6 separate regions of the Homo sapiens genome follow, and all the other regions are linked to region 1. The links are contacts of gene promoters, found by promoter capture Hi-C in blood cells and fetal thymus (Javierre and others, 2016). All regions are on one chromosome and are shown on one strand. Each heading gives the region's core, a stretch centred on a gene start or on the middle of the fragment in contact. The rest is flanking DNA. Distances are from core to core; before and after follow the strand shown. Region 1 holds the start of RNF138 (ring finger protein 138). Region 2 has its middle 26 kb from the start of SLC25A52. Region 3 holds the start of SLC25A52 (solute carrier family 25 member 52). Region 4 has its middle 33 kb from the start of SLC25A52. Region 5 has its middle 55 kb from the start of SLC25A52. Region 6 overlaps TRAPPC8 (trafficking protein particle complex subunit 8).

Evidence for each region. The method cuts DNA at HindIII sites, captures the fragments that hold promoters and counts their contacts. A CHiCAGO score of 5 or more calls a contact.
Region 2: a fragment that was not itself captured here is called in contact with the fragment with the promoter of RNF138 in region 1 in 8 of 17 cell types (naive CD8 T cells, total CD4 T cells, monocytes and 5 more); the score reaches 7.8 in naive CD8 T cells.
Region 3: a fragment that was not itself captured here is called in contact with the fragment with the promoter of RNF138 in region 1 in 1 of 17 cell types (total CD4 T cells); the score reaches 5.1 in total CD4 T cells.
Region 4: a fragment that was not itself captured here is called in contact with the fragment with the promoter of RNF138 in region 1 in 1 of 17 cell types (M0 macrophages); the score reaches 5.2 in M0 macrophages.
Region 5: a contact is called between a fragment that was not itself captured here and the fragment with the promoter of RNF138 in region 1, in 2 of 17 cell types (non-activated CD4 T cells and total CD4 T cells). The highest score is 5.6, in non-activated CD4 T cells.
Region 6: a contact is called between a fragment that was not itself captured here and the fragment with the promoter of RNF138 in region 1, in 4 of 17 cell types (total CD4 T cells, naive CD8 T cells, total B cells and 1 more). The highest score is 7.9, in total CD4 T cells.

What each region holds. Positions count from the first base shown.
Region 1 is chr18:32,089,476-32,094,359 of GRCh38, forward strand. RNF138 (ring finger protein 138) reads left to right here and starts at 2,399. Exons shown (of 8, transcript NM_016271.5): 1 at 2,399-2,760; 2 at 3,225-3,411. The coding sequence starts at 3,302. LOC124904278 (a long non-coding RNA gene) reads right to left here and starts at 2,470. Exons shown (of 2, transcript XR_007066327.1): 1 at 2,380-2,470; 2 at 1,800-2,027. It also overlaps a transcript of RNF125 not described here. RefSeq lists an enhancer at 2,098-2,147 and a silencer at 2,818-3,237. The HindIII fragment of the contact is 10,157 bases long and covers 163-4,884 here.
Region 2 is chr18:31,732,821-31,737,704 of GRCh38, forward strand. No RefSeq gene overlaps it. Among named protein-coding and RNA genes, the nearest start is that of SLC25A52, 26 kb to the right of the region's middle. The HindIII fragment of the contact is 1,897 bases long and covers 1,720-3,616 here.
Region 3 is chr18:31,760,514-31,765,397 of GRCh38, forward strand. It overlaps SLC25A52 (solute carrier family 25 member 52), which reads right to left and starts at 367. Exons shown (of 1, transcript NM_001034172.4): 1 at 1-367. The coding sequence starts at 148. The HindIII fragment of the contact is 1,431 bases long and covers 1,428-2,858 here.
Region 4 is chr18:31,791,692-31,796,575 of GRCh38, forward strand. No RefSeq gene overlaps it. Among named protein-coding and RNA genes, the nearest start is that of SLC25A52, 33 kb to the left of the region's middle. RefSeq lists an enhancer at 880-939. The HindIII fragment of the contact is 1,707 bases long and covers 1,639-3,345 here.
Region 5 is chr18:31,813,260-31,818,143 of GRCh38, forward strand. No RefSeq gene overlaps it. Among named protein-coding and RNA genes, the nearest start is that of SLC25A52, 55 kb to the left of the region's middle. The HindIII fragment of the contact is 2,516 bases long and covers 1,348-3,863 here.
Region 6 is chr18:31,830,121-31,835,004 of GRCh38, forward strand. It overlaps TRAPPC8 (trafficking protein particle complex subunit 8), which reads right to left. Exons shown (of 29, transcript NM_014939.5): 28 at 1,964-2,053; 29 at 1-869. The coding sequence ends at 635. Among named protein-coding and RNA genes, the nearest start is that of SLC25A52, 72 kb to the left of the region's middle. The HindIII fragment of the contact is 1,655 bases long and covers 1,862-3,516 here.

The DNA of each region.
Region 1 (4,884 bases), core at 1,149-3,648:
TTTTCCCTTCTAATGACCAAAGGCTGAGGACATTTTATTTACGCAGCTGAATGTATTTTGAGTAAATCTATGACATTCTTATAAAAATATCAAGTAGCTTTTCACCAGAAATGTTGCCAAGAAAGAAGATTGTGTCATTGGTAATTGCAACTTATTTTTTTAAGCTTAACTTTCCAAGGGTATCTATATTTTTCTTATGTCCAAGTTTTTGCTGGATTTCCACATATTGCCAGCTATATGCTTACGTGTATACCGAATGACTTATTAGAATATATGGGGGAGTGATACAAATATGTTTGGATTAGACATAAGTAAAGCTGCCGTTGCAGAGAAAGAATGAAGCAAATAAAATTAGGGTCACAAAATTAATGTTATGGTTAGATATTCCCAATGAATAATGGGAAACACTATTATACAGAAAATACACCTTACTTCCTAAATGGTCAGAATGAATGAAATGAGTGGAATTATCAAAAAAGTAAAATGTAGGCCAGGCACAGTGGCTCAGGCCTGTAATTCCAGCACTTTGGGAGGCCAAGGTGGGCGGATCGCTGGAGGCCAGGAGTTCGAGACTAGCCTGGCCAACATGGCAAAACCCTGTCTCTACTAAAAATGCAAAAATTAGTTTGGCATGGTGGTGCATGCCTGTAATCTCAGCTACTTGGGAGGCTGAGGCAGGAGAGTTGCTTCAACCTGGAAGGCGCAGGTTGAAGTGAGCTGAGATCATTCCACTGCACCCCAGCCTGGGTGACAGAGTGAGATTCTGTCTCAAAAGAAAAAAGAAAAAAAGTGAGTTTTCTTCTCTGGGCTGTTAAAAATTTGAACTCAAAGAACCATTTTATAAGTGAATGTGAAAAGCACCTGAACTACTGCTATTAGCTGCCCCTCTCGTCACGTGCTCTTCCTCCTTCCAGGAAATCTGAAGCTAGTATTAGCTTTCTTGTCTTGCTTCCACTGCGCTTGCTGCTAAGGAGGAAAAGCAACAAAAATACAAAATATAGTTTGGTAGAGGGAATTAGCTATTCATTGGACAAATTATTATTATTCTAGGAATCAATGCTTTTGAGATGTACATTAAAACCCATTTCCTCCATAAAGTTTTCTGTTAACTCTATATATTTCTAATCATTCCATTTCCTATCCTCATTATAGCCATCGTTTAATGCAAAATTTAATACTTTGGCAAATACCATTTTTTCTCTCTCATTCTGATAGATATGTAATAATGTAAACAGGTTGAGAGCAAAGTTCATGACATCTGCATAACACCTAACAATGCCAATGTCAACATAGACAATAAATGGCAGAATTGATTTAAATAGTCCCTTAAATGGCTTCTGTTTATTCATTTAGACCATGGGGGAGGGTTTTAACAAAGGATGGTAATAAAACCTTTCTTTTCTCTGAAGCTAATTGTAGATGCTGTATAATGTTCCAGATTTTCCTTAGCTTCTTTCACGTCATTGTGGATCCCATCTTATCGATTTATCCTTTTTTTGTTCTTCTTTTTTTTTGAGAGTCTCACTCTGTCGCCAGGGCTGGAGTGCAGCGGCGCGATCGCGGCTCACTGCAACCTCTGCCTCCCGGGTACAAGCGATTCTCGTGCCTCAGCCTCCCGAGTACCTGGGATTACAGGCTCCCACCACCATGTCCGGTTAATTTTTGTATTTTTAGTAGAGATGGGATTTCATCACGTTGGCCAGGCTGGTCTTGAACTCCTGACCTCAAGTGATCCAACCGCCTTCGCTTACCAAAGGGCTGGGATTACAGGTGTGAGCCACCGCGCCCGGCCTTTTTTCTTTCTTTTTTTTTTTTTTTTTTGAGACGGAATCTCACTCTGTTACGCAGGTTGGACCATCTTATAGATTATCAATTGTACAGATAATTGCACTCCGGCCTGGGAGACAGAGTGAGTACCTGTCTCAAAAAATAAAATAAAATAAAATAAAATTAAAAAAAACACTTAAATTAGTGAATAACCTTGGTGAAAAGCCACGTCCATGCTTCTACGGCATTTCTCTTCAAAGCTAAAAAAAAAAAGAAAAAATCAAAAATCAACCCAAAGGTGTAGTAGAAGACTGCATCTGCGACCGTATTTAAGCATCGGTCATGCTGTTAAAGGAGAAAGTGGACATCCTCTCAAGGAAACTTTAATCCTGCCCCCAAAGGATTAAAATCCCGTAACAAATATTTGTTTATAACACATCTTGACAAGATCAAAACATTCTGGTAGGGCAAATAGTAAAGACTAAATCTTGAACATTGACGAAAACTTCCTGAAAGGCCCAATGTATTTGACAGGAGAGGTAACTGGGGTCCCGGGCCTAGCGAGGCGGGGCGGGGAGGCGCAGGTGTCACCGCGGGCGCCCAGCTGCTTACGTCACAACCCGCGGAAGGCGCCGTGCGCCGGTTGCTATACAGGCCGCACTTCACACCCCGTGCCTCCCCGCCTCTCCTGGCTCCTCCGCCCAGATCCCCGGCGCTCCCGCGTTCGGTGACGGCCGGGTAGGCTGTAGGCAGCGCAATGCCAAGACAGAGCTGCTGGCGGCGGCGGGCGAATCTCCCTGCACCATGAGCCTCGGCTCCGGCCCCGTTAGGGGCCGATAAGCACAGCGCACGCCGCCCTCCATTTGCCCCGGGGCCTCGGCTGCGAAGATAGCGGCGGCCGGACAGGAAGCTCGAGGAAAGCGCTGGGCCGGGTCTCTACGAACACGTGAAGGAAAAGCAGCTCCGTCCACAACGCCGCTTCGGGGCTCCTAGGTGAGAGTCTCCCCGGCGGAAGCGTGGAGGGGCCGGGGTGCCGGGAAGCGGGGCGGGGAGGAAGCCGCGGACACGGGCTGGGCACTCGGGGCTCGGGGTCGGGGTGAGTAGAGGCGGAAAAGCAGTGAAAAGGGAGGCCTTGGGCGAAGACGGGGGCTGAGGGCGGGGCGCGAGCCCGCGCCTGGAGCCCGGTGAGGGCGTGGCCTAGAGCGTGAGGCCGCGTCCTGGGGCGGGGTGAGGGGCGAGCGGGGCGGGCCCACGGCATGCTGCGAGCCCAGCCTCCCGCCAAGCACCGTCCCCCATCCAGCCCCCTGTGGGAGGAGCCGTGGGAGGGGTCGCCTCTTGCCCGGCGCGTGCGGCAGTAGCGTCTCTGCGTTCGGCCCCGCCCTACCCAGGGCCCCGCCCCCTTCCTGGCGCGCGCTGTATCCTGATGCGATCCCCCTCCCCCCTCCGGGTTCATGTAGGGAGTCGGGCCCCGGGCCGCCACCGTCACCTCGGCCGCTGCCGCTGTCGCCATCGCCTTGTTTCCCCATCCCCCGCCATGGCCGAGGACCTCTCTGCGGCCACGTCCTACACCGAAGATGATTTCTACTGCCCCGTCTGTCAGGAGGTGCTCAAAACGCCCGTGCGGACCACGGCCTGTCAGCACGTGTGAGTAGACGCCCCCTCCCCCTCGCGGAGCCGGGTTGTCGCTTAGGCCCGGCCTCCGGCCCGGGACCCCGGGCTGCCGCCTGGCGGGAACCGAGCCCGCCGCGGCCTGCCCGAGCGTCGCTGCCCCGCGAGGTCCCGTTCCCCGCCCCTCAGAGTCCCGGGGCGGCCTTTTCCTCAGCCTCGGGGCCCGCTCCCCGCGTCCAGCCCCCTCAGCCCAAGCTCCCGCTCTCCCGCTCTCCCGCTCTCCCGCTCTCCCGCTCTCCCTGGCTTTCGCGCCCCCGGGGCAGTGGCCAGGCCGTTCCCTGCGGCGTCTTCAGGCCCCGGAGGCCCCTGTCGTCTCCGCCAGGCCCGGGAGGAATTGCAGGGATCTTGGAGCCTTTTTGTTTCTTAGCAACCCGGGTGAAGGCTGGGGTGTCGAGTGTCAAAAGCGGCCGGCGGTGCTCGCGCGGGCCCGCTCGCCCCGCGACCTGCCCTGCTTTCAAGTTTCCTCTTTCAGAACCTTGGTCCGTCCCCTCGGTCCAAGAGCTCTTCTGTAACTTCCCCTCAACCCTGCTTCACAGAACACCCTCGAGAGCGTTTTGTTTCGTTTCCAGTCCACTATGTGTTAGAGGGATCTAGAATGAGTTTTCTTCTCTGGTCTCTTAAAACTGACAGGATTTTCGGGCATTGAAATGAGCGTTCCCCTTTGTTTTACCTTTCTGCTTACTTATTACTTGATTAATACAAGGGTGGAGAGGAGAAAGGAAGACTTCTGTTATGAGGAATGAGCCGAAATTGAGATGCTACCCAGGGTGGGGGAGAACACAAAGGGGTTGGGTGAGATAACGCATGCGTTTGATTGGCAGGCATATTTACAAGAACTTTGATAAAATTTTATGGACAGCTAGGGTGTGAGTAAGGGTTGGAAAGAGCCCTTGTTGAGAAGGTGTATAGCCCTTCTGACAGACCTGACTGATGATCAGAGTCCCCGGGGAACTTTTTAAGTAAACATACCAATTCCCAGGCTCCATTTCAAACTTAACAAAAGAATGTTCGGGCAGGTGGGGCCTGGAAATCTTTATTTATTTATTTATTGTATTTTTTTTTAGTAGAGACGGGGTTTCACCGTGTTAGCAAGGATGGTCTCGATCTCCTGACCTCGTGATCCTCCCGCCTCGGCCTCCCAAAGTGCTGGGATTAAAGGCGTGAGCCACCGCGCCCCGCCCGGAAATCTTTATTTTTAAAAAACACACTCAGGCTTGAAAGTTACGTGTGTTTGCAAACAACTGAAAAGAATTGACCAACCTTCTAAATGTATTTCATTCTCCTTCGACTTTTTTTTCTTTTTTTTTTGAGGTGAGGTTCTATAATTTTGTAAAGGATGGATTGAATTTTTGGTTCTTAATTGCAAATGCCCTTACTGTGGCTGTTTTCTTGATACCAACTCTTCTCATTTTTTCCCCAATCTTAACTGCACTGTCTACTTTATTTCTA
Region 2 (4,884 bases), core at 1,418-3,917, 360 kb before region 1:
AAACATAAAACCTAGCAAGTCTGAATCATGAAGAAACAGAAAATCTGAACAGATCTATAATGAGCTAAGAAATTGAATCAGTAATCAAAAACTTCTCAACAAAGACAAGCCCAGGACCCAACAGCTTCACTGGTGAATTCTACCAAATATTTAAGGAAGAATTAATGCTAATCCTTCTCCAACTCTTCCAGAAAATTGAAGGAAAGAGAAAACTTCCAAACTCACTTTAGGAGGCCATTATTACTCTGATGCCAAAGCCAATAAAGACACTGCAAAAAAAATTACAGACCAATATCCCTGATAAACATAGATATAAAAATCCTCAACAAAATACTAACCAAATTCAACAGCATATTAAAAGAATCATATGCCATAATCAAGTGAGATTTATCCCAGAGAAAGGGTGGTTCAACATATGCAAATATGTAAGATCACATGAACAGAATAAAGAAAAAAATTATACGACCATTTCAAAGATATATAAAAAGCATTTGACAAAGTTTAATATCCTTTCATAATAAAAACTCTCAACAGATCAAGTATAAAGGAATATACCTCAACATAATCAAGGCCATATATGACAAGCCCACAGCTAATATCCTCCTTAATGGTGAAAACCTGAAAGCTTTTCTTCTAAGATTAGGAACCCGGCAAGAATGTCCACTGTTACCACTTCTGTTTAATATAGTACTGGGAGTCCCGGCAAGAACAATTAGGCAAGAAAAAGAAATAAAAGGAATCCAAGTTGGAAAAAAAAGAAGTAAAATTATCTCTATTTATAGATGATACGATCACATATACAGAAAATCCTAAAGACTCCACCAAAAAAACCTGTTAAAATAGACAAATTTAGTATAGTTAAAGGATACAAAATCAACATAGAAAAATCAGCAGTATTCCTATATACTAACAACAGACTATCCAAAAAAGAGATCAAGAAAACAATCCCATTTACAGTATATCCAAAAAAAAAAAATACTTGGGAGTAAATTTAACCAAGGAGATGAAAGACCTGTACACTGAAAACTATAAAACACTGATGAAAGGATGAAGAAGACACAAATAAATGGAAAGATATCCCCATGTACATGAATTGGAAGAATTAATATTGCTAAAATGATCATTGGCACCAAAACAATCTACAGATTCAATGCAATGCCTATCAAAATTCCATGACATTTTTCCCAGAAATAGAAAGAGAATCCTATGAAACCACAAAAGACTCCAAATAGTCAAAGAAATGTTGAGCAAAAGGAAGAAAGCTGGAGGTCTCATACTACCTGATTTCAAATTATACTACAAAGCTATAGTAATCAAAACAGCGTAGTACTGGCATAAAAACAAATGCATAGACTAAAGGAATATAATAGAGACCCCAGAAATAAGTTTATGCATTTATGTTCAGTTGATCTTCAACAAAGGTACCAAGAACATACAACGTTCAAGAAAGCACAGTCTCTTCAATAATTGGTACTGGGAAAACTGGATGTCCACATGCAAAAGAAGGAACTTAGACCCTTGTCTCACCCATAAAGAAAAATCAACTCAAAATGAAATAAAGACTTAAATGTAAGTCCTGAAATTATAAAACTACTCAAAGAAAACATAAGGGAAAAGCTCCAAGACATTGGTCTGGGAGATGATATTTTGGTCATATATGACCCTTGATACACAGGCAACATAGTGAAAAGAGAGAAATGGGATTGCATCAAAATTAAAAGCTTCTGTACAGAATAGGAAACAATCAACAGAGTGAAAAGGCAACCTACCAAAGGGGAGGAAATATTTACAAACTGCATACCTGACAAGAGGTTAATATCCAAAATATATAAGGAACTGAAACAACTCAATATTAAAAAGATAAATAATTCAATTTTAAAACAGGCAAAATACCTGAATAGATATTTCTCAAAAGAAGACATTTACAAGTGGCCAACAGGTATATGAAAAAATGTTCAACATCACTAATGATCACAGAAATGTAAATTAAAACCACAAAGAGATATCACCTCACACTGGTTAGTATAGCTATCATCAAAAAGACAAAAAATAGTAAGTGTGGGTAAGGGTGTGCAGAAGACAGGACCCATGCACACTGTTGGTGGGACTGTAACTTGGCACAGCCATTATGGAAGACAGTATGGAGCTTCCTCAAAAAAGTAAAAATAGAACTACCATATGATCCAGCAATTCCATTTCTGGGTATATATTCAAAGTAAATGAAATCATTATGTCAAAGAGATATCTTCATTCCCATGTTCATTGGAGCATTATTCATGATAGCCAAGATATGGAATCAACCTAAGTGTCTGTCAAGAGATAAATGGATAAAGAAAACGGGATATATCTATGCAATGGAATACCATTCAGCCTTAAAAAAGAAGGAATTCCTGGCTGGGTGCGGTGGCTCACGTCTGTAATCCCAGCACTTTGGGAGGCCGAGGTGGGCGGATCATGAGGTCAGGAGACAGAGACCACCGGGTGAAACCCTATCTCTACTAAAAATACCAAAAATTAGCTGGGCGTGGTGGCAGGCGCCTGTAGTCCCAGCTACTTAGGAGGCTGAGGCAGGAGAATGGCATGAACCCAGGAGGCAGAGCTTGCAGTCAGCGGAGATCATGCCACTGCACTCCAGCCGGGGCGACAGAGCGAGACTCCGTCTCAAAAAAAAAAAAAAAAAAAAAAAAAAGGCAAAAAGAAGGAATTCCTGTTATTTGCAGCAACACGGATGAACCTGGAGGACATTATGCTGAGTCAAATAGGCCAGGCACAGAAAGACAAATACTGCATAATTTAACTTATATGTAGAATATAAGAAAGTTGAAATCATAGAAGTGGAGAGTAGAATGTTGGTGGCCAGATGCTGGGGCAGAGTGGGGCTGGGATGGGAATGAGGAAATGTTGGTCAAAGAGTACGAATTTTCAGTTAGACAGAGGGATGAAGTTCTGGGGATCTCTTGTACAGCATGGTGACTATAGTTAATAATAATGTATTGTCTACTTGAAAATTGCTAAGAGAATAGATTTTATAATGTTCTCACCACAAACTAAGTATGTGAAGTGATAGATATGTTAATTAGCTTGGTTTAATGGTGTCACAGTGTATACATATATCAAAATATCACATTGTATACCTTGAATATATATAACTTTATTTGTCAACTATATCTTAATGAAGCTGGGGAAAAAATCAATAAAAAGTAAACACACACACACAGGACAACTGAAGATCACTTTTTATTTTGTAGAGACAGAGTCTGGTTGTGTTGCCCAGGTTGGTTTCAATCTCCTGGCCTAAGTGATCTTCCTGCCTTGGCCTCCCAGAGTGCTGAGATTACAGGTGTGTGCCACCATGCCCAGCGGAATATCACTTTTACTTAGGAATATAGGTCAGAAATATTTTTTTAACCAGCAAATCAAATCAAACAATATATTAAATAATCAATTTAACAAAATAGGATTTAATTTAGGAATTCAAGAATAGTTCGAGCACTGGAAGAACATGATTTAATATTTTAAGAAATGGAAAGAGAATAAAAACATGATCATAATAACTGAAGCTACAAATTCAACCAGACACTTTTGCATTCTTTAAAACTCATTTAAGATAAAGAGAAGCTTCCAAACATGTTGAAGTTTATTTCCTACAAATCAATCATAAACATTTCAAATAAACACAAATTATTTTCATTAAAATAGAAAAAAGAAGAATGCTGTCTACTACCCCTAATGGTCAACAGTCATTGCAGGGAGTATAACAGATAATGTGGTAAAGTAAGAGAAATAAATATGTAGTTTAACTATGGGGAAAAGCCTGTTTGATATCCTTTTCTATTTTGATTATAAATGTGCTTAGGTTCTTCAAAAGACGTGATCTGAGAGTAGCACATATTAAGGTCATGTCTTATTACTACAGGCTGTTCCAGAAAGGCCATGGGGCTTTCTCTGTTTATGGGAACAGCTGAATATGATCAAAACTGGATGGGCCAAGTGCATAGGGCCTGTGCTGCCAAGACATGCCTTCAAAAATAGGAAGTGAAAATCCAGTCCCATGCTTACGTATCAAATATAGCATTGGCCCTCAAGTTCAAACTGCTAGAGTATACTCAAATTGCTTCATTCAGCTAATTTTGGGAGTATACTAATGACCAAAGGACACTTTACTATAAAGTGACATTTGTTAATAGAGTTCCAGACTCCAAAATGCAGTTTCCAGGATACTTGTTAACAGAACATAGGGTAACCTAATAATTCTACCACTTAGTCACAAACCTATTTAATCCAACATTTTTTCGAATTCATTTACTTAAGAAATTAGATCATTCATTACAATTAATTTGGCAAGCAAAGACAGCCAGCTGCTCAAGTGAGATCCCAAATTTTCTAACAAATTGAATAAACACTAATTTGTTTATTTGTTGATATGATTATGGAATTAGCAAAATGGCCTATTCCTCAGCATGAAAAATTCAGGTCCAAATTGTTTCATTGAGGCTTATTTCTGTTACAAGTTAAATGAAAAAGAGAATCTATTATTCACAAATTTTTTAAAAAAATCATTATTAAAAATAAAGACCATCTGAGCATAGTTTGAAACTTCTAACTGCAGGTTTTCACCTCCATGTGGTCTTCACTTTTTCTCTAACGTGGAGCCCACAGCATACTTTAAATGGCACTCATCCTTCTGAGACCTCTAGTCTCAAAGTGCCTTCCCCATATTATAAGAGTATTATTTATTTATTTATTTATTTTATTTAAAGAGACAGAGTCTTGCTCTGTTGCCCAGGCTGGAGTATAGTAGTGCAATCATAGCTCACTGCAGCCTCAAACACCAGGGCTCAAGTGATCCTCCTGCCTCAGCTTCCCGAGTAGCTAAGACTATAG
Region 3 (4,884 bases), core at 893-3,392, 330 kb before region 1:
GATATGTGATTGCGACGTTGTTGAAGGCTGCACAGCAGCCACACAAGTAATGCTTCATTTCACCAACATTTGTAATATGAGGTGATATATCTTGTTTTGAAGATGTAAGTATTGGTGGCCTCTTTTCATGAGCTTCTGAATCTATCATGTTGCTTAAGATCTTTCTCATGAAGGGCATTTTTTAACCTGTGACATCATCTGAGCCTGGAGTTTGGCAGGATGATAGCTTTGTGATAATGTTCCCAATTTCTTCCATTGTTATTGTTCTGTTAGGTTCTCTCTTCCCGAGTCCATTTTGATAACTGGATTTCCGTTCTCCAGGCGTCCATTTCCCCAACCCATCGCCGCCGGCGCCCCGCAGGACTGCGAGCAAGCCGGGACCTGCGCAGGCGCAGACCATGACCGACCCCGGGGCGGGGGCGCAGCGTGACGCTCTGGGCGCCGCTGGGATCCGAGAAGAAACCCTTTTAAAGCAAGCATGGCAATTTCTTCTAAATAAGCTGGATAAAATTAAAAACTCATTCATCCAAAGATCCTAAAAAATCAACAAATTCCTAAATATTAAATGGTATAGACACAAGTGTTTCTTAAATCACATAACCTTCTCCACGGACACTGTGAAGATGTGTTGCCAGTGGCTTCCCTAAGAGACTGTGAAACTTTTTAAATAGTGTATACATACAAGAAAAGTGGATTTTAGTGTAATCTTGCAGAAGAACAAAACAAACATGGTATCTAAGAGTACAAAGGCACAAAAGTTGAAATTTCATAGTCACTCAGGCCTTGGAGTACTGTATTTTCTTGAAAGGGAAAAAAGTAGGCCAGGTGCAGTGGTTCACACCTGTAATCCCAGCACCTTGGGAGGCCAAAACGGGAGGATCGCTTGAGGCTAGGAATTTGAGACCAGCCTGGGCAACATAGCAAGACCCCTGTCTCTACCCAAAAAAAGAAAAAAGAAAAGAAAGAAAAAAGTAGGTGGTAAGGAGAAGTAAGGAGAAGATGAATTTTTTTTTTAAAAAAAGTTCTGTATACCACATGAAATTTTACTGGGAGGAAAGTGTCTGAGGTTTTAAGAGGCATAAATTAAATAACCTTGAAACCCATTTTGCTCTAGGACTACCCATGTGTTTTCTAGAGTAACCAATGTGTATATTCCATGTATGTGAATGAGAGATGAAAGGAAACAAAAATAACTTCCCTTCCAGGAACAGTGGAAGGCTTCAGCCAACAAAGTAGGTCACAGCATCAGACTACATTGCCTGCTGATGTGTACTGCCTAGTTTTTGAATAGAATCAAATGACAGCTTCCTTGAGATTAAATGACAGTTTCCCTGACCATCATCTTAAAGCACGCCTATGGTGGATCGCTCTAGAATGAACCATAAACCCGAAGTTCTCTTTAAGCTTTAGTGAAACGAAATAGTAAAAGCTTTTCACGGAAAGAGAAGGGAGTCTCCAACATTTATACTGATTGATTTTGGCAGCAATGACTTTCATTAGAAATGTAATTGCTGGGTATGCAAAAATTAGCACTGTTGGGGCTAGAGAGATCTTTGTTTTCCTTTCTTTTGTTTTGTTTTGCTTTTTTGCCTAATATTGATAGTGTTTTCTCGGTTTTGCCATAGCCCTTCTGTCAAGATGCTGGCAATCAGTATATCATGAAAAACAGACTGCCCTTTCTCGCATTTATTGAAGAGAGATTCTCATGATCCTATGGTAAGATAACAATTGCTTTTTTTCAATCCATCCTCCACACTGCAGCCAAAGCAGTCATCTTAGTAACAAACGTGAGCACGTTTTCCCTCACTTAAATCTTTAAATGATTTTACACCTGAAGGACAAAGGTCCCCCATGGTCTGACGTTTTCCTACCCTTGGCGCCATCTGCCTTCACATTTCTAAAGGCACCTTCCGTCCCCGCCATATCAAACTACTCGGGGTCTCCAGAATGAAGAATAATGTGCCATCTGACACTCCTTTGTCTTTATTCGGTTATTGCCTCTGCCTGAAATGTCCTTACTTCTAGTTCCTACTCAGCTTCTGGAAGCCTTCGCTAACTCCTTAGTCCAAATGAGGACCCCTTCTCCACAACACACCCTATACACACTGTGAGTGTGGCACGTGTCACACTGTACAATGTCCACGATTCACAATGCTGAGGGCTTCTTGAAGACACAGTCCACTTCTCATTGAACTTTATTCCAGTTTGTGTCCCCAGTGTCCAGGCATCTGGTTAGGTCTCCAACTGCTTAAGAGTGTAAAGAGTGTTGATGAGTTCTGTATTACTCATGGGTCTTGGTTATAAGAGCCAAAAATACCATTCCAACTGAAGCAAGCAAATCTAGGGGGTAAGGAAAGGAGAAGGAAGAAGGAAGATGAGAAGGAGGTAAGAAATCAGGAAAGGATTTAAAAAGGTGGCATCTGGGCAACATTTAAGGCAATTTTCCAGCTTCTCTCATTTGCACCAGTAGGAGTGGGCCATGTGGCCACAGAGGAGAACATTTCCGAATACCCTTCTGGATCCTGCTGATTTTGGGGGGTACTTACCTCCTTCTGTCCTCAGCACCCAAGTGCCAGATGAGGCAAGTGAATTCCTTTGCAAGAGAGGAAAGAAAGGCAGTTTCAGTGAGAAAATAACAATAAAAAGTGAAGTGGGGGGAGAAATGTATTAGTTCGTGTAATGAAAAAGTTGAGAAATCCAGAAGTAGCAATCACTTTAGGCATTGCTGGATCCTAGAGGTTCAACCACCATCACAAGTACTTAACATCCCTCTCCACGTATATATTGCCCAGCTATACATTCCTCAGTTTTAACTTCATTTTCAGTCAGCTCTTTCTACAGAGTAACATCCTACCTGAAGCTTATTCTGCTAATTTAGCAACTGAAGGATGAAGTGCTTCACTTTCCCAACAGTTCCTGCAAAACAACCCTAGGATTGAGTCTCATTGCAGTTAGTTGGTCTGAACCAATCACTGGGATCAGGGGGATGGAAAATGATACTAATCAAACCTGAGTCACTTGCCTCATCCTGCACTTGTCAGGTAAATGGGGCAGAAGGAGGTAAACCTCCCATCCCGCCCACCACCCAAACCACTGGGACCTAGAAAGGTATTAGGAGGTGTTCCCCTCTGAAGCCACACAGCCCACTGCCATTGGTGCAGATGAGAGGAGCTGGAAAATTGCTTTGGAAGTTGAGCCATTGCCACCTTTTTTTGGTCCAAGCTTGCAGTTTCTTGGGCAATGTAACTATACAGTTTGAAATCAGGCAACTCAGGCAGGCGCGGTGGCTCACACCTGTAATCCCAGCACTTTAGGTGGCTGGGGTGGGGGATCACCTGAGGTCAGGAGTTCAAGACCAGCCTGGCCAACATGGTGAAACCCTGTCTCTACTGAAAATACAAAATTAGACGGGTATGGTGGTGCACACCTGTAATCCCAGCAACTTGGGAGGCTGAAGCAAGAGATTCACTTGAACCCAGGAGGCGGACGTTGCAGTGAGCTGAGATCACACCATTGCACTCCAGCCTGGGCAACAAGAGCGAAACTCCATCTCAAAAAAGAGAAAAAAAAAAAATTAGGCAACTCTACTGACCGATGGCCCAAGTCAAATATGTTTGGTCACAGTCCTAGATTCCAGACCCTTTATTGCGGGATTTTTGTCTCAGCACAGGCCCTAATGCTCTGCTATCCCACCTAGTCCTCAACCTAGTGTTGTCCATGCTGGCTGCCCCAGGGCAGAACCAGCACCCTCAAAGCACAGATAACTTGGCCCTTGCCCCTTGGTTATGTCTGATGGGTGACTCTTTACAATGGAGACCATTGTCACCCTTCTCAGGCTGCTAAATGTCTGCAAGATGTTTGGGAGAAGCCTAAAAGAACAGGAATGAAGCTTCTCTCTGACTCCTATCTTATCTTCTGATATGTTTTCCACACCCTAGGCTTTGTGAGAAGTAATATTAGTTGATGACAGAGAACCCCACTTTTCAATTCAGCGAAGCTCAGAGACGTCTAATCTAACTTTCTATTATTTTATTTATTTAATTTTTTTGAGACAGAGTTTCATTCTGTTGCTCAGGCTAGAATGCAGTGGCACCATCTTGGCTCACTGCAACCTCCACCTCCCAGGTTCAAGCGATTCTCCTGCCTCAGCCTCCCAAGTAGCTGGGACTACAGGCACATGCCAAGACACTTGGCTAATTTCTGTGTTTTTAGTAGAGATGGGGTTTCACCATGCTGGCCACACTGACCTGGCCTCAGGTAATCCCCCAGCCTCAGCCTCCCAAAGTGCTGGGATTACAGGTTTGAGGCACCACGCCCAGCCAGGGACATCTAAGTTTCTAAGTTGATGGCTGTAGGAAGAAAGGGCCTCCTGTAGCAAAGCTGTCTTTTCTTCCCTTGCTGCTTTCAGATTGCCCATTTCTAACAAAACTTGTTTTTCTGGTAGGACCTAACCGAAGGCTACAAAATAAATTCATCTTATTCCATCAGCCTGACATTTTTCTACCATCTCTCTTTAACTTTCAACTTCAGTAGGCTCATGGTCAGAGCACCAAGAGAAAATAGAATAGTTTCACCACTGCCTTGCTATTACTGCACAACAAAATTGCCAGCTTCCTGCCCAAAATCGAGAGGTCCTCACTGCCCCTATCCCATCTTGACTGAGCCACGTCTCTATTTGACAATCTGCAACATGTACTCTCTCACCTCCAGATACGAATTTAGAAAGTGTTCAGAGTCTTGTATTAATTTGTTCAGGCTGTCATAACAAAGTACCATAGACTGGGTGGCTTAAACAAAAGAGACTGATTTCCTCACAATTCTGGAGGCTGGAAGTCCAAGACAACCGTGTTGGCAGGGTGGGTTTCTCCCAGGGCCTCACTCCTT
Region 4 (4,884 bases), core at 1,242-3,741, 300 kb before region 1:
TAGACCAGAAGAATAATTTGATTAACATAGCAAAATAAAGCCTCCAGGAGAACTGGAGCGCACTCCGTCGATGCCAGTGCATTCTCTCCCTGTTGGCAAATATTTGGGAAGCTAAATTATTATCTGAAGGTCACTTGGTGAGCATGGTTTTAAAAGAAAGAGAAGTGGAGAGTATTGAAAGACATTGCTGTAACTCAATGCTGCCAGTGACATGGGCCTGTGACCACAAAATAGGTTTACATCCTCTTTGCTTATTCAACTTATTATGACTCTAACACCCACTGGTCCACTTCCTTCAAAGCGCCTTGCCAGTTATTTGTGGGAGTTTCTCTAGGTCTTGCCTCAAGGGAACTATGCCACAGATCCCTGTTGCTTCTTAACCCTCAACACTGACCATCTTTGTAAAATAGCCACCTGGTGGGGACAGCTGTCCCTCATGATGCCCACTCTAATGCTTCCACTCTGCCCTCAGTGTGGGGACCCTGTTGCCACTAATTCCCCGGAGGACAGTTCAGACCAGACAGTGGCTTTTATTAATTTTTAGTAAAGTAGGAAGACAGAAAATGATGTGGAAACTATCTTATAACTGCTACTGACCATAACCTCAAGAGTTCCTGGAGAGCTTGCAATAGACCTCCTCATAATAAGAGTAGGCCTGACTCCCCAGGCACCTCTAGGCATCCCCACAAATTAAGTTCAGACCCAATTGCACCCGAGGGGATGTCCTCTCCCACTCCGTCCTACCTCAGGATGACTGGCAGTAGAAACAGGTATTCCCCGCAGGGGAGGAACCCTCACACTCACCATGTGATGTGGCTTCACGGCTCAGACACTGCAATAGCAAAAGCCAACACTACCCTCAGTCTTAAAACCTCCCTTTTCTTGACACTTCCACCTTCTAAAGATGCCAAGTATATGGATGTGACTGTGAAATGTGCCCAGATAAATTTTAAGGAGATACAATATTGACTCCTGAGTGTTAAACCAATAAATTACAACATAACAGATGTGATTCACCCTGTTCAAAGGTTACTTTAGAGGTTATACTTTCTCCCAGGCCATAAACAGGAATAACACATAAGGGCAACTGATGCTTGATTGGACACAAAAGGAGACTAGCTTTATCACTGCTATGGACACATCGGAGACAGAATAGGTGAGCAGAGGATGTTGTCTATGTGACGGTAATAGATGGGTATTGGATAATGAGAAGCCATTCATCAGAGCCCAGGAAGAAGAAACCCAGAGCCTGGGAAGAAGAAACACTGAATCTGAGAAACTCAGTCACCAGAGAGTACTTTTCTGGGAAGCTGTGGTTTATGGAAAAGAAGGAATGCAGGTTGGAAAAGCAAAAAGAGAGCAGAGGACAGCTGCTTCCTAATTCCACAGGTAGCTCCCACCTGGGCTATCTCTAGTGTATGGCTCTTGAGACTTCATATTTATTTAGATTCTGCTTTACAGTTTACAAAGGGCTTCATATGTCTCTTATATGCTGAGGAAAGATAGTGGTGTTATATTGCTGAGGGAAACTGAGGCAAGATTTTAGTACTAGTAGAACTATAGAACTGATCTAGCACCCAGATCTTCAGCTTCCAATTCAAAGACATTTCCCCTCTAGGATTGCTGATCCAAACCAGAAGCTTGTCTCCGCAGCTTTGTCTGCCCTTTCTTGTCAAGCCTCCTCATGCCATTGCACTTTCCTACTTGCCTTGAACACCTTCCCTTTATATTCCTCCTGATTTGGTGCCATCCTATGCCTGGGTTGTTACAGAGAGTATATAGAAACAGCACAAGGCCATTGTTCTATCCTTTCACCCTTTGAGATGCAAGCACTATTTATCTTGGAATTTTTCATTTGGGTAATAACTAGACAAAGAATTACAGTACCTACTCCTTTCCTCCTTCAGCAAGGAGTCCTCAGGCAAGGTAACACTACTGGGGCCAGGTTCTCAGAAGAGAAGACTGTGAGAAGGAGGAGGAGGAAGAGGAGGAGGAGGAAGAGAGGAGGAGGAAGAGGAGGAAGAGAGGAGGAGGAAGTGGAGGAGGAGGAAGAGGAGGAGGAGGAAGAGGAGGAAGAGGAGGAGGAGGAGGAGGAATAACAGCCATTTATCATTCTTTGTATTGTTAGCTGGTGAAGCAAAATGGATACACTTTGTCTCTACAAACACACATTACAGCCAATGAGACATAAAAAAGGTGAAAATGGGCTACATTTTAAAAACATTATTTGCCTTGCATATTTTTATGAGTCTCCTTGACCCTGAAACTGAGGAAAAAATAACCTTCAAAGCAGAGAAGGGAGGTAGTGAAAGCAAACCAAACCAGAATACGAGATGAACATCATTGACATCAGAAACCATCTGCTGGTCTTTGTTGTTAAGAAAAACCCGTTAGCCTGGTTTAATGGGGACAGATCAGACAGCATGAGGTGGATTGTGCTGAAAGAAAACATGCAACTATCCCCCTATCCTTTGGGTATAAGGCAGGTTCTGACATTAGGCTAAAAAGACTGGCATTTAATGGCCCTGCATTTGCATAATGACCTTCCTTCTGTAGCTTGTGATATCTCAGCTAATTGCTTTAGAACACTTCTGCTACATCTGGGGTTTTTTTGTTTTTGTTTTTGTTGTTTGAGACCAGCTTTTCACTTGTTTCCCAGGCTGGAGTGCAATGGCGTGATCTCGGCTCACTGCAGCCTCCGCCTCCTGGGTTCAAGAGATTCTCCTGCCTCAGCCTCCCGGGTAGCTGGGACTACAGGTGCCCACCACCACATCCAGCTAATTTTTATTTTTTATTTTTGGGGGTTTTTTTTGTTTGTTTGTTTTTGAGATGGAGTCTCACTCTGTTGCCCAGGCTAGAGTGCAGTGGCATGATCTTGGCTCACTGCAACCTCCAGCTCCCGGATTCAAGCATTTCTCCTGCCTCGGTCTCCCAAGTAGCCAGGAGTACAGGTGCGTGCCACCACGCCTGGCTAATTTTTTGTATTTTAGTAGAGATGGGATTTCACCATGTTGGCCAGGATGGTCTCCATCTCCTGTCCTTGTGATCCACCCACCTCAGCCTCCCAAAATGCTGGGATTACAGGCGTGAGCCACCACGCCTCGTCCATCTGTTAGGTTTTACTACTTTCTAATCCATTCAAAATCCTCACTACCGGCCAAGTCCCAAGCCACTTAAAATTTTTGGAACATGAGGTTGTATGAACCAGAATTCATATGATTCACCTGGTGAGATATATGTGATGTGCTATCAGAAAGAAGGTAATGCCCAGAGAGAACACAAAGTCATAAAAAAAAAATCCTGATTTCTATGTCCTCTTATGTCACAGGGATGAGCTTTGAACAAAGCTTTGTTCCTTCCCATTGAGCTAGAGGAATCTTCCTGTGGATAGAATCTGTGATTCTATGAGTCAGGCAGTTCTCAAACTCCTCTGTGTAACCTGTAACTGAAGAATAAGGAGGTTCATAAATTTGGAAAGGAGAGCTTAATTTCTCAGCAAGACTTGCAGCCTGTATGGTGGCAATTCTGACAGGCTGGGAAGCACAGCCTTCAGTCAGAAGCCAGAAACAGACACTTTGAGGGAGGGGGAAGGGGAACAGGAATTTATGCAAGCAGGGTGGACAATTAGCCATAGATAAATATATCTTAGTTCTTCAGGTAATTCTGATATGAATACCCCCCACATTTAAAAAGCTGTAGGAGGAGTCATGAATATTTATGAGAGGAGAAACGTGCATGTGCAGCTGAGCTTCATGCCCCTTCATGGGTCCCAAAAAATGTCGGCATTGGCACGATCCGATCTTGGCCCTCTAACATCAAAAAGTAAAGTAGAGGACACAAAAACCCTCACTATGCATCCTCTGTGGACTGGCCAGAACCAATCTGTGGTAGGTGGTCTATCATTAGGAAGGAAGCCTGATTGGTTGTGGTGTCAACACTGCAAAAGGGAAGGGCAGCATCTGGCTGTTGGCTGATATCTGCAGTGGTGTCTTTCAGAAAGGCTGGTTTCTGGCCAGTCAAGGTGGCTCACACCTGTAATTTGAGCACTTGGAGAGGCTGAGCAAGAAGGATGGCTCGGGCCTAGGAGTTTGAGACTAGCCTGGGCAACATGGCAAGACCCTGTCTTGTATTTTTTAAAAACTTTAAATAAATACATAAAAATTTAAACATTTTTTAAAAATTAAAAACCAAAAAGGCTAGTTTCTGTTTAGCCATCAGGGAAGAAAGCCCTAATGACGTCAGCAAGGAAGGAGGTATAATGAGGGATGTTCAATCTCTCATCTCATCATGGCTAGGAACTCAGCTTCCAAGCTTTCTCTGGGGTCCCCTTGGGCAAGTGGGGGATCCATTCAGTTGGTGAGTGGGCCTAGAATTTTGTTTCTATTTCTGAAACCTGAGAGTGGTCCCAGACTTTTGGGAGAGAGGGTCCTGGTACCCACCATAATAAAATTCAAATTCTGAACTAATTGTGGTCTTATCCGCCTGTCCCAGGGGCAGTGTGGGCCAGGCACTCTCAGGCCCCGCTTAGGCTGAGCTCCTATTCTATGACTTCATTTTCTCAGCAGGTGAAGCGGGGGCTTGCCCCAGGAGCCAACAGAAAATCATCATGGTGAGGTGGGAAGCACGAGGACTGGAATCAGCAGATCTGAATTCTAAACTTGGTTGGCTACTGACAACCTGTATGACCTTAGACACTTAGCTCTAGGAGTCATTTAATAATAACTAAAAGTATCTATCATATATTAAGAGCCTATATGTGCCAGAGCCTATATTAAATACCTTACATATTTTAATTTATACATGTAAAATAATAAAATATATGTTAAATAATTCTCACAACAACCTAAATGAAGTCTAATATATCAATTTTTATTCTCATAGCAT
Region 5 (4,884 bases), core at 1,356-3,855, 280 kb before region 1:
ATACTATGCAGCCATTAAAAAAGGATGAGTTCATGTCCTTTGTAAGGATATGGATGAAGCCGGAAAGCATCATTCTCAGGAAACTATAGGAAGGACAAAAAACCAAACACTGCATGTTCTTACTCATAGGTGGGAACTGAACAATGAGAACACTTGGACACAGCAAGGGGAACGTCACACACCGGGGCCTGTCATGGGTTGCGGGGAGGGGGGAGGGATAGCATTAGGAGATATACCTAATGTAAATGACGAGTTAATGGGTGCAGCACACCAACATGGCACATGTATATACATATGTAGCAAATCTGCACATTGTGCACATGTGCCCTAGAACTTAAAGTATAATAAAAATAAATAAATAAACAAAAAATTAAAATTAAAAAAAGAAAATTTAACAGGTGAAAATGTGAACTTAATTTAAATTAACAAATTGAGAGCTTCCTTTGTATAAAATTTTATTAGTGGGACATTGTTTTGATCATTACAAATAATTTTAATTTTCAAAGTAGCTCTTTTTATGGATCACTAACTAAATATACACATATGTGTATTTTAATATTATAAACTAGGAAGTATCACACACACATGACATTTTCTAATGCACAAATGGAGAACATGTAATTTTAAATCCCAACCCTACAATCACTTAGAAGTTAATATAAATCAGAGTTTAATTTTTTCAATTAAGATCAGCTTTTCTTTCTTTTTAAAATGGTATGTTTCCTATCATACCATTCCATCCCAGAAAAAAATAAAAGAAATAATTAAAAATACTACAAAATATGAGAGTTGTGATATCCCTGTCATAAATAAGGGACTAACGGTAAAACTGATTTTCCTGCAAAGAGTTAAAAATCCTTTATAATATCACACCATCTCATAAGGGGGAACGGTTACACTAAATATAGAACGTCTTGAATGCCTGCAAAGCCAAAATGGTGAATAATAAAAAGGAAATAAGCTGTGAACCAGGTATCAGCCTCCTCAAAGAGAAAAGTTTGTGTGAATATTGGGAACCCTAGAATTGCTTTATCAGTCATCTGAGGACATCCAGACTGCAGAACAATTGTCTTGATCTGCAAATAATTTCTGCTTATCATCAGACGGTTGTGGTGTAATACCAAGAAATAAATGTCTAGCACAGACTTTCTGTTTATGATGTTACACTAGAGGATGTATGTAAAAATGGTTTCTGAGGCTATCCTTACTCCTTGGCTCTTGGCTAGCAATCTTAACAATTTCTTGATATGACACTTTTTTTCCTTTAAGATTTTACTCTAAGGATAATTTTCCAAGTGGGTTGCATTCTGAAATTGTTTTGTTACTCTTAACATTACTCAAAAAAAAAGCTTCTCAGATGTGCAAAGGTATTTTCAAGGGATATAATGGCTGCTTTCTGTTGGGACATAATTCTTCATGAAGCTCTTGCGTTTCTGCATCTCTTGTGAGCCAAAGCATTAACTTCCATTTTGTTTCAGACTACCTTTTCCTGGATGTTTGTGTCAGCCTTGGAAGGTTGAGATCTGTCTCTCTCTAAAACTGACAGTTGGTTGCTTCCTGTCCAGTATAACAAAGCTAATATATCCCCCTACAGTGAAGGTCAGGCAGGTTTGCTTGCAGCCCTCTATAATAGATATTCTATAAATATTTTAGAAACCAAAGTTTGAATCTATGTTGCCCCATAATCAGCCAGTGAAAGCCCATTGAGACAAATGGAACAATGAAGACTGAAATTTAAACTTTTGTTTCAATGTGGAAATTTTGCTATTTGGGCAATTTCACTCATTTAGAAAACAGACTGTAGTTGGTGTCCTTGTTAACCCCAAGTCTTTGCTTAATTATTATTCAGTGCTGCAGCTTATAGTATTAGCTGTGATTTGGGGCCTTAAGGAAGGGCTTAGATTGGCCACAGTCAGGACAAAGCAGCATGAAAAAAGCTGTGGCCAAAGAGAAGCCTGTTACCTGCCAGTGGCCAGAGGTGACCCTGGAAGCCAGCACAGCCGCTGCCCAGACAAGAACAACCAGGACGGCTGTGAGTATCCTGGTGGATGATGAGGGGAACCTGGTCAAAGACTAGACTTCTTCTTTTTTTTTTTTTTTTTTTTTGAGATGAAGTCTCACTCTGTTGCCCAGGCTGGAGTGCAGTGGCGCGATGTCGGCTCACTGCAATCTCTGCCTCCCGCGTTCAAGCGATTCTTCTGCCTCAGCATCCTGAGTAGCTAGGACTACAGGCATGCACCACCAAGCCTGGCTAATTTTTTGTATTTTTAGTAGAGATGGGGTTTCACTGTGTTAGCCAGGATGGTCTCGATCTCCTGACCTTGTGATCCACCCACCTCGGCCTCTCAAAGTGCTGGGATTACAGGCGTGAGCCACCGCGCCCAGCCCAAAGACTAGACTTCTAAAACATCATCTGGGCGGGGTGTGATGGCTCACTCTTGTAATCCCAGCACTTTGGGAGGCCAAGGCGGGCAGATCACCAGGTCAGGAGTTAGAGACCAGCCTGAACAACATGGTGAAACCCCAACTCTACTAAAAATACAAAAATTAGCCAGGTGTGGTGACGCACACCTCTAGTCCCAGCTACTCGGGAGGCTGAGGCAGGAGAATCGCTTGAACCCAGGAAAGGGAGGTTGCAGTGAGCTGAGATCACACCACTGCACTCCAGCCAGGGTGACAGAGTGAGACTCTGTCTCAAAAAAAAAAAAAAAAAAAGATTCTGGGACAAATGCCCATCAACGATAGACTGGATAAAGAAAATGTGGCACATATACACCATGGAATACTATACAGCCATAAAAAAGAATGAGTTCATGTCCTTTGCAGGGATACAGATGAAGCTGGAAACCATCATTCTCAGCAAACTAACACAGGAACAGAAAACCAAACACTGCATGTTCTCACTCATAAGTGGGAGTTGAACAATGAGAACACACGGACACAGGGAGGGGAACGTCACACACTGGGGCGTTCCCCCAGGGCAAGGTTGGGGGCAAGGGAAGGGATAGCATTAGGAGAAATACCTAATGTAGATGAGGAGTTGATGGGTGCAGCAAACCACCATGGCACATGTATACCTATGTAACAAACCTGCACGTTCTGCACATGTACCCAGAACTTAAAGTATTAAAAAAAAAAATGACTCCGAGAGACGAGAATTGAGGGGATAAGTGGTCAACAATAACAATACTAAACTCAGCCAAATTAACTGCTGTATTAAAAATTGGGTTTCAATAATAAAATGTGGCACATCAAACCAGCCTGCCCCTATAAAAATATCAGGTTGATCTATTCATCAAACAAATATTTTTGAACATATAGTCTATGCCCAGGCACTGCACAAAATCCATAGGTATAACATGATGAACAACATGGCTTCCTGCTAGGATCTTAAACACTCAGAGGGGACAACACACCTTACTGGCAATGGCAACATAGTTTTATTAGTTAGGGTATGTTCAGCAAAAAAAATCAATAGGTTTAATAAAATTAAACTTTACTTCTTTTGCACAAAAGTCCAGATAGACAGTCCCAGGCAACTATGTAGACTCCACAATCATCGGGACGATGGGCTTCTACTAAATTGTTGCTCTATCATCGACACATGGCTTCCACCTTGTGGAAGATTCCCAGTAATGGGAGATCTCTCAAGAACCCACAAAACATTCCCTGGTGCCCAGAGACCATCAATGCCAGGTTATCACAGTACCGGTGAGGTAAGGCGTTCCTACACCCTTGCTACTCCTACTTAGGTACTTTTACCAAATTCTGGAAGATTCAGAGTCAGCCAAGTATATTAACACAGGAAGGAGAAGCACACAGTAGAAAAATGGAGAAGTTGGCCATCTTCCTCCCAAACTGAAAGCTTCCCAGGAGAGAAGCCAATGTTAACTTTATGAAATTCAGAATGCTGGTTATTAAAGTTCTTGGAAATTTTAATTATTGAAATTGAGGCTCTTCTTGAGATTTAAAGTGATCAGAGGGCATTGGTCAAAAGAGTTATGGTACCCAATATCTCATTCATCAGTTCATTTCTTCTATTCAATTCAACAAGAATTTCTAGTATGTGTCCTGCATTGTTCTAAGTATTAAGGAATGATATGAAAGAAACAAATCTCACAGTTGATGTGCCAAGCCCCAAGTTTACAATCAAAATAAAGCCTAGAATCTTGAACAGAATTGGTAACTTAAAATAGTGCGGTGGTTGCTATAGAGTGTCGACCTTAAAGAGATTCAAGAAATATGGTTAAATATAGCATTTAGTCAAGCACAAATTTTAAGGATAGGCATCCAGGAACACAGATTCCAAAGAATGGAAGCCAGTGCTCCAAAGTGGAGAAGTTTTGGGGGTCATTTATATAAATAAGGTTTGGGAAGCTTAACAATGTTTCAACATTTTCCACACAAGGCTAGCACACAGTTACAGTAATCTGATTAATTGAGGTGGTGTTCTTTTTGGGAAAGGTATATTTAACATTCCACATTGAGGATATAACAATCATGGAGTCTTCCGCACCATCTGATCTGAGTTAGATGCAAGATAATAAAGGAGGAAAGGCTAGCCATCATCAGGAGGGGGAGGTCTTATGTCTGGCACCATTTAGTCTTTCCTAATTGATTTGCAGAACAAGAACAACGAGAAAGAATGAATCTATAACCTGAGAAGCAGAAATTGCAGCCACATGCATGTGCTCAGACCACACAGTCACATTTCCTTTAAGGCTCAACATAATTTTTAGGCTTCTAAAAATTATAATTAAGTTTGAATTATTTAGGTTTCATACAGCCATTTGAAATCACATCTATTAGAGGGACTTACAGAGGGACTTACGAAGTTCAAATGGAATTTAAGTAAATCATGTTTTAAAATGATACATTTTTTGA
Region 6 (4,884 bases), core at 1,439-3,938, 260 kb before region 1:
GCACTCTATACTGAGATGAATGAGGGGAAAAAAGTCAAAACTCCTTTCAAAACTATATTCAAAGCATCAGAAAAAATTTTTTTTTCTTTTTACAAAGTTATGTATAAGTCATAGGGACCACCAAATACTGAAATATGAAGACTCTATGACCAAAGTTCAAAACTGATTTTAAGGAACTGTGTGAAGCAAGACAGGAAAATTTGTATTTAACACTCTATAGAACTTCACAGTAAAGCTGGAATTTAGAGACTAATGGCTTAACAGGAGTACTGCCAACAAGGCCTTTCCTTTCTCAGAATCATCTCCTAATATTCGTATACCATTGACAAGTTGTAACAGCAGACTTAGACTTTGTGTTTTCTTAAGATGGGGCTTAATAAGGTGCACAAATATGCTGATATCCTGTATTATGAGCATGTAAATTATTCTCAGGGTTTAAAGAAATACAGAAAAAGAATGTTAAGTATTCTCAGTCCAACGTGCTTTGCATCATCAACAAAATGACAAGTCAAAGTATTTTGCAGGGATCAGATATCAATCAACCTCCATAACAAGTTAGGTATATCAAATACTGCTGTAAAACCCATCCAGCAAAAACTGATTATTGTGGATTTCAGTACAAATTTCCAAGTTGTCACACATTACTGATGATGATCAGGGCAGGCATGGAATTCTGCTGACTTGTTTCAAACACTGTAACTTGGTCCGATAACTTGGCAAATACCCTAGGAGTTCCAAGGTTATAAACACCTGTATGAACAAAGCATGCTTTCAGCTGCAGACTGTGAATCTCCTGGCTTTTAAGTTGAAGTTTATACTGTGTTTGTCCAAGCCATGTGAATGATCCATGGATTTCCAGTGCTTCTGGACTAAGGGAGGAGGAAAATGTAAGTTGCAGGATTTTTTTCTTTTTAATTTTTTTCCCAAAGTCACATTAACATATCCCTTTCAGCTGGGCGCGGTGGCTCACGCCTGTAATCCCAGCACTTTGGGAGGCTGAGGCAGGTGGATCACCTGAGATCAGGAGTTCAAGACCAGCCTACCAACATAATGAAGCCCCGTCTCTACTAAAAATACAAAATTAGCCAGGTATGGTGGTGCACGCCTGTAATCCCAGCTACTCAGGAGGCTGAGGCAGGAGAGTCACTTGAACCTGGGAGGCGGAGGTTGCAGTGAGCTGAGATTGCACCACTGCACTCCAGCCCATGAGAGAGCAAGACTCCATCTCAAGAAGAAAACAAACATCCCTTTCATCTAACAATTCTATTTCTAAAAATTATTTTATGAAGCCAACTGTTTATTAATAATAGCAACATCATTACTATAACAGCTAACATTTATTATTTAATAGTTTCTATTCTCTAGGCACAATGCTAAAAGTGGATTATTTCATTTAATGCCCTAAGAGTTAGTATATGTTGGAACTTGATTTCAAACCTAAACTTTTAACTCCTTAGTTAGCCATATATAAGTGTCTGTACATGAATGCTTTTAATATTGAAACTGTTTATAATATTGAAAAATGGAAAACCCAGTACCCAATAAAGTATTAATAAATTTATGATACACAAAATCACATATATAGGTGTGTGTTTGGATTTCAGAGAACTGTCCCAGATCCTGTTTGGGGTGTTATACAAAAATATTAAGTATACGCTTTATAGTATTTTTCCAAAAATTCAAAAATTTCTGAATTCCCAAAAGCATTTGGCTCTAGGAGTATCTGATGTGGGACTGTGGATCTGGATTTTTTTTTGTTGTTAAGTACTATTTTATAATCAAGAAAAAAAAATCTTTAATATTTAAAGCCTCTGTAACACATCTGTAAGCCTTCTATATTACCAAACAAAAAACCAGGACAAGCTTGAGTAACTTTCTTATCCATGTTAGGTAATTATTTGCATAATTTCAAAATATTAAATTGCTCCCAAATCAAATAACCTTGCACTAAACAAATCTTTACCTTGTTGTTTTATGCCGAAGATCAACTATGACATCTACATCAGCCTTAGAACAATTGGAAAGTAAAAGAGTGACTGGTACTAAACAAAGGCTATGGAAGAAAAATAAACAAAAAAGTTATATATTTTTTTCTTCTTAAAAGCAATTTTCCTGAAAATAACACTTAAGACTATGTAACAGAGCATAAGCTCCTTAAAAACAATCAGATTCAAGAAGGAAAAAGCTCAAGTTCCAAAATCACTCAAGACAAATTATATTGTAAATAAAAAATATATTAATACAATGACAATATTAAATATCAGAATATATACATTCACAGAACTATTTTATTTTCATTTATTAATCTTCTAAAAACAACTAAAATGTTTCTAGATATTTCACAAAATGAAAAACAAAATCTCAACTTAGATCAATGAAGAAAAAGTAAACCATGAAAATGCCAACAACTAATACTGTTGTCTTTGTGCTTATTAAAAATTACTTAATTTTGAGAACTTGGCCTAGACTGACATTTGTTTTTCTATCAAATTTGCACAACATCATGTTTTGAAGAATATAAGAATGATTTCTATATAGTTATGAGGAAATCTCTTTCGAGTGGATACATTTTGCTCAGGTAGCCTAGTTTCTGATACCATAATTAATAAATTACTAAAGCATAGGAAAAAAGGCAGTGATAGAAGAGGACATGCGAATAGAGTGGTACAGATTTCAAATCAAGAATGCAAGAAATGAATATAACATGTACAAATGAAGCAGGGTTATATACTATTATCTACCTTTTACTCTATAAACACAAAGATAGTAAAGAAGAAAAAATAGTAACCGTATAAGTTCATACACATTAACTTTTAAATTCTGCTCAGATAATATATTTTATACTTTCAGAAACTTTATATCTTCTTACTGAGAAATACTTTTTAAACAATACCGCAAACGTCACAGGTTTCCCTAAACAAAAACTAAGATGATTTAAAATACATACCAGGTTGTACTGGTGCTATGCCCTAACTTCCCCCACAAACTTCTCATGTGGCAAGAAGGGCAACAAAGACTACTGGGTAGGTGTCCAGTCAGTCTGAAGCATCTCATTAAATTAAGTTCCAATTGCATAATTTGTAGCCCAAAGTAAAAATTCAGGAACTTATGCTATTCTGTTCCCATTTGATCCTCAAATGTCAAATTCTTTGTACCTTATACAAATGCTTCTAGTAGAAGAAGAAATGTGAACATGTGGATATCTCCTGGTCCAAAGTGAAACTCATCATCTTCATTCCAGTGAAGAGCACCCCCATCTACCCCAGCAAACTGTAAGTATCATACTGATTCCTCCTAACAGTCACTAACCTCCACTCCCAATGTTCTTCACAAATTCCTGCCAATTCTCTCACCCACACATCTCTGGAACCTGGTTACTTCACTGTATCTCATTTTCCTTACAAGTTCAAGTCTCATGTCTCATTTTACTGCAAGAGCCTCTTAATTAGCACCACAATGCAATCTATTCTTTAACCATGTTTCTCACACTTGAGTATGCACCAGAAATACCTGGCAAGCTTGTTTTAAAAAACCTGCTGGGCCTACTCTCAGAGATTCTGATTCCATAGGTCTGGAGTGTGGCCCAAACATTGCATTCCTAGGCTGGGCACGGTGGCTTGCGCTTGTAATCCCAGCATTTTGGGAGACCGAGGCGGGCGGATCACAAGGTCAGGAGATCAAGATCATCCTGGCTAACATGGTGAAACCCCGTCTTTACTAAAAATACAAAAAGTAGCCGGGCGTGGTGGCAGGTGCCTATAGTCCCAGTTACTCGGGAGGCTGAGGCAGAAGAATGGCATGAACCCAGGAGGTGGAGCTTGCAGTGAGCCGAGATCACACCACTGCACTCGAGCCTGGGTGACAGAGCAAGACTCCGTCTCAAAAAAAAAAAACAAAAAACAGAAATTACATTTCTAAGTTCCCAGATGATACTAATACTAATGCTCCTGGTCTGGGATCACATTTTGGTTGTTGTTGTTGTTGTTGTTGTTGTTTTTTATTCTTTGAGATGGAGTTTTGCTCTTTTTGCCCAGGCTGGAGTGCAGTGGCACGATCTTGGCTCACTGCACCCTCAGCTTCCCAGGTTCAAGCTATTCTGCCTCAGCCTCCCCAGTAGCTGGGATTACAAGCGCTCGCCACCACACCCGGCTAATTTTTTTTTATTTTTTAGTAGAGATGGGGTTTCACCATGTTGACTAGGCTGGTCTTGAACTCCTGACCTCAGGAGATCCGCCCGCCTTGGCCTCCCAAAGTGCTGGGATTACAGGTGTGTGCCACCAGGTCCAGTCTTGGGACCACATTTTGAAAACTGCTTTACACATTAGTTTTTCTAAAATGCTAATCTAATGAACCACAAACAGGGCTGAGAAATCAAAGTTCTGACAACTATTCTCCCACCACTGCATCCAGTGAAAAAGCTGGGCTCTAGAGTCAGACTGCTACCTGTACCTCAGTTTTCTCAACTGTAAACTGCAAAGAATAATAATTGATTCTACCTCTTGGGTTTGTTGTGATTAGGTAAAACATGTTAAGTGCTGAGAATGGTGACTAGCACATGTTCAAAAGCTCCATAAACATTATTTAATATAACAATTTATGCTCATGGCAGCTAAACATAGTATGATTTTATCTTTGTTATCTCCTGTCACCTATTCTTTCTTCTATTCTCATACCTCTACTGCTCTGTGTCCCACTACCATGACCAAACCTCCTACTGTCCCATTTCCTCACATTTCTACTTGTTTTCTGAAACCCCCATTAAATTAAGAATGCTTCCTTATATCCTCCATCTCTTCTCTTTGTGTTTCTACATCTATCTTTAACTGTATTGTCCTCTCAACAATAGATGCTGTATTTCTTCCAACATCTTCCATACCTCAGGGT